Regions from separate parts of the Homo sapiens genome. Here region 2 is linked to region 1. Evidence: promoter capture Hi-C in human tissues and cell types (Jung and others, 2019). All regions are on one chromosome and are shown on one strand. Each heading gives the region's core, a stretch centred on a gene start or on the middle of the fragment in contact. The rest is flanking DNA. Distances are from core to core; before and after follow the strand shown.

Region 1 (4,355 bases), core at 999-3,498:
TTTTTTTCAATCCTCCCTGCGATTGGCTACTTTCAGAATCCTGTGCAGATTGGTGTGTTTTACAATCCTCTTGCAAGACAGGAAAGTTCCTGATTGGTGCATTTTACAATCCTCTTGTAAGACAGAAAAGTTCCCCAAGTCCCCACGGGACCCAAGAAGTCCAGCTGGCCTCATGTCTCAGTTTCTCCTCTTATCAATATTCATGTCCCTCCCACAGCTTATTGAATATGCATATTCAGCCACCCCCACTCAGTGTAGATCTCTGCTTTATTCTTCCCTCCCTCCAAGTGTCTGTTTCCAGCTTCCTACCAGAGGCTGCGCCTCCCAACCAGTCAGAACAGCCACACTCAGCCCGCAGCACTTTATGAGAAGTAAAGCGCTCCTTTCCAAATTGACGACCTCGTCCTTCTTCAGTTAACACCTCCCTCTCTCAATGACGATGATGGAGCATGTCCAGGTGTTGGTGACACAGCTACATGGCTGCGTGTGGGATAAAGTCGCTGCCCCTTCAGAACTCACACCCCCCTGGAGTGGGACACACACCTCTAAGAACAAACAAGGATGAGAGCAGAGCCAGCTTGGCATCGTGGGAATCAATAAATGAAACAGAAAGTGCAAGGTGGTGGGGGTAGCTATCTCGGGACGGGGTGTCAGAGGTGGATCTGAGTTGGGCAGACAGGAGGGACGCAGTCCAGGGCGGTCCTGGGTGAGTCTGTTCCATGTAAGGAACTGCCAGCACACAGGTCGTAAGGAGGAGTGCGGTGTGGCCCCGGCACCAATCCAGGGCTGGATGAAGAATGATTGAGGCAGTCTGAAGATGACACCAAGTCATTCTCCTCCCACGGAGAGGTGGACTTTCTCTTCTCTCTGCAATCTGGGCTGGCCTCAGTGACTTGAGGAGGGAGAAATACTCTAGGATTCCTAGGCTGGGTCATAAGGCACCTTCTAGCCTCTGCTCGAGTGACCTCCTAGGAAGTACAGCTGCCCTGAGCCCACCATGCTGTGAGGAAGCCCAAGCCAGCCGTGGGAAGAGGCCGTGAGGTGGGGGAGGGGAGGGAGATCTGTCCGGCCTCACCTGTTGTAGCCATCCCATAGGTGTGTGAACACAGCATCTTGGACAAGCCAGCCCCAGCTGACATAATTTACAGAAAAACCAAGGAACCCTGCAGACAGCCGGAACTGAGGTCCCAAAATACAGCCCAGCCAAGCCATGCTGCCATCGTTAGCCATTGGTACCTTCCCAATTGAGACCCCACAAATCATGCGGCCTGTGCCACCATCCAGTGCCGGATCTGAACTACTGATCCACTGAGCTTTGGGCTGATTGGTTCTGCAACGATGGGTGGCCAAGGCCACGGTCAAATCCAGCTGGAGAGGTGGATGGGGCCAGTGTCAGGGGTTTGGATTTCACCCCAAGTCAGCTGAGGCACACTGGAATGTCGTAAGCCTGCACATCCACTCATCACACATTTTAACCGCATCTGAGTGTGGACCGTACCGATGGGTTCCTGCACCTGCAGCCTCCACACCATTGCTGGTGCCCTGCCTCCTAGCTGGAGTATCCTTCCTGTCTCTTGGCTGCTCTTTGTACCCATCATGGTCCCCCTACCACCCTCCAAGTTCTGCTCCAAGCTTTGTTTTCCTCCAAGAGAAGAACCTGTCCAGACAATAGTTTCAAAGCAGCGGGAAGCTCTGCTCACGTGTCCCCAAGGACCATGCTGTGTGAAATTCCCTTCTGTAATCACAGAGCCCATTGCCCTGGCCTATTCCTGGTCCAGGAATAGGGAGGAGGTAGACAGAGGATGCCTCCTTCCCCACTGCTGAGAACCCTGCCATCCTCAGCCACAGTTGCCACAGAGAAGATACCACATCCCTGGGGGAATCAGCAGGAATCAGGTAGAGAGTGGCACTGCTCTGGGGAGGGAGGGCGTCTCACAGCATCAAACGTCAAAAACCCACAACATTGACCCAGTCCTGCCAAGACGGAACCCTGCATGAGCATGGGGGATGGGGAGTTGGGGTGTTGCAAAAGACGCAATACATGAATGATCTCAGGTAATTCTCAGGCAACCCCCGGAGGCTGGTGTTGCTAGCACCCCTCTGCAGGAGAAGAAGCTGGGGCTCGGGAGCTGACTGGATCTGCTCAAAGGCCCAGGAAGAATAAGAGTTAGGAACTGGGACAGACCTTGAGGAAGCTGCACTTCCTCCTGAGGTGAGCCAGCGTTGGAGCTGTTTTTCCTTTCAGTATGAATTCCACAAGGAAATCATCTCAGGAGGAAGGGCTCATACTTGGATCCAGAAAATATCAACATAGCCAAAGAAAAACAATCAAGACATACCTCCAGGAGCTGTGTAACAGCAACCGGAAAGAGAAACAATGGTGTGTTCCTATGTGGGATATAAAGAGCCGGGGCTCAGGGGGCTCCACACCTGCACCTCCTTCTCACCTGCTCCTCTACCTGCTCCACCCTCAATCCACCAGAACCATGGGCTGCTGTGGCTGCTCCGGAGGCTGTGGCTCCAGCTGTGGAGGCTGTGACTCCAGCTGTGGGAGCTGTGGCTCTGGCTGCAGGGGCTGTGGCCCCAGCTGCTGTGCACCCGTCTACTGCTGCAAGCCCGTGTGCTGCTGTGTTCCAGCCTGTTCCTGCTCTAGCTGTGGCAAGCGGGGCTGTGGCTCCTGTGGGGGCTCCAAGGGAGGCTGTGGTTCTTGTGGCTGCTCCCAGTGCAGTTGCTGCAAGCCCTGCTGTTGCTCTTCAGGCTGTGGGTCATCCTGCTGCCAGTGCAGCTGCTGCAAGCCCTACTGCTCCCAGTGCAGCTGCTGTAAGCCCTGTTGCTCCTCCTCGGGTCGTGGGTCATCCTGCTGCCAATCCAGCTGCTGCAAGCCCTGCTGCTCATCCTCAGGCTGTGGGTCATCCTGCTGCCAGTCCAGCTGCTGCAAGCCCTGCTGCTCCCAGTCCAGATGCTGTGTCCCTGTGTGCTACCAGTGCAAGATCTGAGGCTCTAGTGGGAAACCTCAGGTAGCTCCTGAAGATCTGTGCTTTCCAACAAGTGACTACCCTTGAAGCACATCCCCTTCTGGATCTGAAAAGAGCCCTTGGCTCAGGGCGTCTTTTTCCAGCCCCTGAGGAAATGGAATGAACCACTCCCTGCCCATTCCCTATAAGAATATCCCAAGACCCAGGCAATTTTGCCCCTCTTTCCCACATGCCCCCATATGTCTGAGCCAAACTGCACTGGGGGCTGCCCTCATGCCAAGCAAGAGCCTGGAATTCCCCTTCTTGATAATTCCATGGGAGACAGCAAACCCTTCTTTCCTTTGCCTGCCAGGAGCTTCACGACATTTGCAGATGGATGTCCTGCAACCCAAATGATCACATGTATCTATGGAAATCCAAAATGCATCTGGGTGCAGCACTAAATAAATTCTCCATCCCTCAGCCTTGGTCTCACTGACTCTTTTCTTCCAGCCTCTGTCTCATTGGCAAACTGGCCACATGTCCTTCCCCTCCTCCCTGATAGCTTATTGCTCCCACTGCTGTAACAGTGTGCCAGGCCCAGCTCCCATTCCAGAAACAGTTGTTGAACTGATTAATGAAGGAACCACTAGCAGTATGTATGAATGAATGAAGACGAGGAATGAATGAGTGAATGAGTGAGTATCTCTCATTAGTACACAGGGAGTCCCAGCTGTATCTCAGTGGGATTCAGTCTGTCTTGGTTGGAATTTGGACTCCTACTTCTTCCCCATGGGAGGATATGTTTGGGAGAGAAGGAGAACTTTGCCCTCAGTGCCTAGGAAGGGATGTAATGGGTGCTCTCTGGGTCCAGCCAGTCCCCAGTTTGTGGGTCAAGCCAGGAGATGGGGAAGCGAGACTAGAATGAGCTGTGTCCCTGAGATGCTCTGTAGGACAACACTGGAAACTGTGCTGCTTCAAGGATCCAAGACGGTGTGGCTGAACACAGGCTGAAGTGCACCCTCCATCTCTGGGCTCAGAGTGAGGAGGAATCCAAGTGTCCACAGGCTTCCCAGCTTTGGTTTGGCACAGGGAGGAACAGAAGGGACTTTTCTCAGCCTGATAAAGGCCATCTACCCACAGTGAACACGGTGCTTAACTATGAAAACCTGGATGTTTTCCCCTAGGATCAGGAACAGGAAAAGAATGTCCACACCCACCACTTCTATGCAACATTTCACTGAAGCTATAGCCAGAATAACATAACAGGAAAAGAAAATAAAGCCATCCAGGTAAGAAAAAAGGAAGCAAAACTATCTCTATTCACAGAAAACCTCATCTTGTATACAGAAGATGCTGAGGGACACACACACACACACACACACACACACACACACAACT
Region 2 (4,355 bases), core at 771-3,270, 130 kb before region 1:
ATAGGAATGGTGAGCGTGTCTAGCGCAGGGGTTGGCAAACTGTGGCCCACACGCCAAATCTGGCCAACCGACTGCTTTAGTAAATAAAGTTGTATTGGAACATGCTGATTTAATTCTGTGTTTATTGTCTGCGGTTGTTTTCTCGCTGCAATGGCAGAGGTGAGTAATCGCAGCAGAGACCTCCTGACCTACAAAGCCCCAAATATTTACTCACTGGCCCTTTTCAGAATCAGTTTGCCCACTCCTGGTGGAGTGTTTCAATGGAGACACCTATGACAATGACGTATGATCAGTCTGGAAGGAAGCTTCCTCTTAGGATTTGATTTTCCATTCATTCATCCCGAAACTGTTGCATACCTACTATGTGCCAGACGTTATTCTGGCCAGAAAAGATTCTTGATGTTGTTTTCCAACTTGGAGAGCTGTAGTATTTTCAGTGAGAACAGTAAGTCATACCAGTTACCAAGGTTGGTCATTCAGGCACAGATGCCCCCTGTATGCTGAACTGAAACTTATCTCAGGCCCCATCACCCCCTTTGCCTGCATCCCCTGATACTGTTGGAAGCCAACTCTGTCTTCTATGGAGGATATTGACAGTGAATTCCAGCTTGGTAGGACAGGGGAGGAAGGAGCGTGTTGGTAAGGTCTGGATCTGGCTACACTCTCGCTGTTAGTCTGGGCAGAGTCTAAATTGAGCAGTGGGAGTGTAGCCAGATCAAACCAGGTCAAGTCCCTAGACCTTGACTGGAGGCCGCCTCACTTTCAGCAGTGGTAGCCGGCTTGTGTCGCTGGCGAGAAATGCAAACGTTTGTGAATTTCAAATATGTATATATATATATTTGTGCTCCAAAGGCAGCACACCCGCATATGATTCTCCAGACACCGGGAGGCACTCGTCTCCCCTCTCACCTTTGCAATCCCCAGGTGAAGAGGCAGCACCTCTTGGCGTGATTCTCAAGGGGGTTTGTGTTTATTCAGCAATTTTTGGTCTTGCTCGGGGATGTTCTCACTTCCTATTTAAAAATTTAAAAAAAAAGATTCTGAAAGACTTAAACAGTGAAAACATTTAGGCCAAACCAGAGCTACTGAAACACACACACACACACACACACACACACACACACACACACATATATATATATATATAATGTGTATATATATATATAATGTATATATATATATAAAATGTATATATATATATATATATATATATATAATGTGTATATATATATATGCAGGAACAGAAAGCCAAATACCACATGTTCTCAGTTATAAGAGACAGCTAAGCATTGAGTACACATGGACACAAAGAGGGGAACAATAAAGGGTGGGGCCCCCTTGAGGGTGGAGGACGGGAGGAGGGTGAGGATCAAAAAACTACCTATCAAGTACTATGCTTATTACCTGGATGATGAAATAATCTGTACCCCAAGCCCCTGCGACATGCAATTTACCCATGTAAATATATATATACCTATATATACATATGTGTATTTGGAAGAAAATACCAACCTGCTTTTCATTCACCAGGTGGCCGCACACAATGCATGGTTGGGCCTTCCCCTTAATAAACATACCTGGATAAAGAAAATCTGGTGCATATACACCATGGAATACTATGCAGCCATGAAAAGGAATGAGATTATGTCCTTTGCAGGGACATGGATGGAGCTGGAAGCCATTATCCTCAGCAAACTAACACAAGAACAGAAAACCAAGCACTGCATGTTCTCACTTATCAGTGAGAGCTGAACAATGAGAACACATGGACACAAGGAGGGGAGTAACACACACTGGTGCCTGTCAGGGGGTGGGGTGGGGGAACGGAGAGCATCAGGATAAATAGCTAATGCACGTGGGGCTTAATAACAAGGTGATGGGTTGATAGGTGCAACACATCACCGTGGCATACGTTTACCTATGTGACAAACCTGCACGTCCTGCACATGTACCCAGGAACTTAAAATTAAAATTTAAATTAAAAAAACACACACACACAGCCTTGGTTTAAATGTGGCCTTGCTGGTCTGTGTCAGACATGTTACAGAAACCCATCCCTCTCCTAAGAGTTCTGCCAGGACCCCTGGCTCCAGGACTTTGCAGCCTGCTTTTGAGCACATGCCCACAGAAATTACTGAATTCCAGTAACATCAAGAATCTTTTCTGGCCAGAATAAAGTCTGGCACATAGTAGGTATGCAACAGTTTTGGGATGAATGAATGGAAAATCAAATCCCTTTTAGAATGGAACAAGATCACAGAACTAATTCGGTTCCATTTTCACCTACAAGGAAAGCTTTTTTAGTAGCCGGAGGAAGAGGTAAAAAGTAGCATCAAGAGAACATGTAAAACCACTAACTTTCACTCAGGAGAAACTTAAAACTCCCAGAGCAACCCCTATATGATTCTCCAGACACAGGGAGGCACTGGCCTCCTCTCTCACCTTTGCAATCCCCAGGTGAAGAGATAGCACCTGTCGGCGTGATTCTCAAGGGGGTTTGTGTTTATTCAGCAATTGTTGGTCTTGCTCGGGGATGTTCTCACTTCCTATTTAAAAATTAAAAAAAAAAAAGATTCTGAAAGACTTAAACAGTGAAAACATCTAGGCCAAACCAGAGCTACTGAAACAAAGAACTCTTTGAAAATCACCTATAATGCAACCCACCCACAACCCTTCTGCTCTTTTCATTAGAGAATGAATCATTCCCTATAACTGAATAATCCGGTTAACAAAAACTAAGTAGAGCAGGATGTTTTTAAATGCACCAAGATCTCTAAAGGGCATTACAAAACTGCCTGCCTTCCTGAGCAGGGATGCTGGGTGTCAGGTGGCCTCTTCTGGGTAGCTCAGGCCACCATCATGCGCAATAATGGCAATGTGCTGTAACACAGCCGTGATCTTAGGGGCCCCGCCCTGTGTGGGCATCAGTCCCTGGCAGCAGCAGCCCCAGAATATTACCTTTTTGCTTTTATGCTCGTGTTTCTACTTTATCTATCACCATCCTTATGGTTGTTTTGGAGTGTGTGACCTTCCAGCGATCTGTCCTACCAAGGACAACAGCGGCCCTAAGACTTTTGCCGGGATGGCCAAGAAACTGGGAGGCTGAAGAGAGCTCGAAGTATGGAGCATCCCTGCCCTCAGCTGTGAGCAGGGGAGGCGTGGGAGGTATCCTGGGGATACTGGAGAGGTAGCCACATGTGTGGAGCAGGCAGAAGGAGGGTCCAGGTCGTCTGGCTGGGACAAGGCAAGGGCAGAGGAAGGTGCAGCTCACTTACATGGGCGGGACATTTACCTGGGCTGAAACGACAGCAATAGGCAGCTGTAGAAGGACACGGGGCAGCTCAGCGTGGAGACGCCGCACATTTCAACCTGACAGTTGAGGCTGTGCAAACAGAAGGTAGTCAGGACTGCTGAAGCCTGACTGAGAGGCATGATGGCACTGTCTCTGCCAGTCGGCAAGTGAACGCAGAGGGCCTCCGTGGAGTCGTTCACGTGAAAACAAATCTCAGATGGAATCTTGCTGTGTTGCCCAGGCCGTACACAAACTCCTGGCCTCAAGCGATTCTCCTGCCTCAGCCTCCCCAGTAGCTGGGACTATGGGTGCCCGCCACCACACCCTGCTGGAGTAGTGGACTTTAACATCCTCACTTCCATATGTCAGGGACCAGTTCCTAATGCCACCTCCGTGAACATCACGTGATGGCCAACCAGATGTTGACTGTCATCACTGGGACTCAACTGGGAAACCCTCTTTTTCCTCCAAATTTGCTGCTCTAGGTGCTAAGGGTCTGTAGGACAGAGCTTTGGGACTGTTAGAATTCTATCAGAAAAAAACGAGACAGAAGGCTATAAGCATGAGTGTGGGCAGGGTGCTGTGGTTCACTTCTGTAATCCCAGCACTTTGGGAGGCCAAGGTAGGAGAATCCCTTGAAGCCAGGAATTCAAGACCACCCTGGGCAATATAGCAAAACCATGATTCTACAAAAAATTAAAAAGTTATCTGAGTGTGGTGGCACACACCTGTAGTCCAAGCTACTCAGGAGGCTGAGGCGGGAGGATCCCTTGAGCCCAGGAGTTTGAGGCCAAGGCTACAGTGAGCCATGATCACACCACTGCACTCCAGCCTAAGCAATGGAGCAAGATCCTGCCTCGTAAAGGAAGGAAAGAGTGGCCGGGTGCCATGGCTCATGCCTATAATCCCAGCACTTTCGGAGGATGAGGCGGGCAGAGTACCTGAGGTCAGGAGTTCGAGACCAGCCTGGCCAACATGGTGAAACTCCATCTCTACTAAAAAATACAAAAAAAAAAAAAAATAGCCGGGTGTGGTGACATGCACCTGTAGTCCCAGCTACTCG

What was found. The method cuts DNA at HindIII sites, captures the fragments that hold promoters and counts their contacts. A contact is called where the count stands out against the background at its distance.
Region 2: a fragment that was not itself captured here is called in contact with the fragment with the promoter of KRTAP5-9 in region 1 in 3 of the 25 tissues and cell types used here (liver, lymphoblastoid cells and mesendoderm cells).

Annotation. Positions count from the first base shown.
Region 1 is chr11:71,546,172-71,550,526 of GRCh38, forward strand. It overlaps KRTAP5-9 (keratin associated protein 5-9), which reads left to right and starts at 2,249. Exons shown (of 1, transcript NM_005553.4): 1 at 2,249-3,437. The coding sequence starts at 2,487. The coding sequence ends at 2,996. RefSeq lists enhancers at 2,122-2,667, 2,668-3,212, 2,755-2,814, 4,213-4,262. The HindIII fragment of the contact is 7,685 bases long and covers 761-4,355 here.
Region 2 is chr11:71,420,892-71,425,246 of GRCh38, forward strand. It overlaps the pseudogene ACTE1P. Among named protein-coding and RNA genes, the nearest start is that of DHCR7, 25 kb to the right of the region's middle. RefSeq lists a silencer at 2,611-2,660. The HindIII fragment of the contact is 6,463 bases long and covers 1-4,355 here.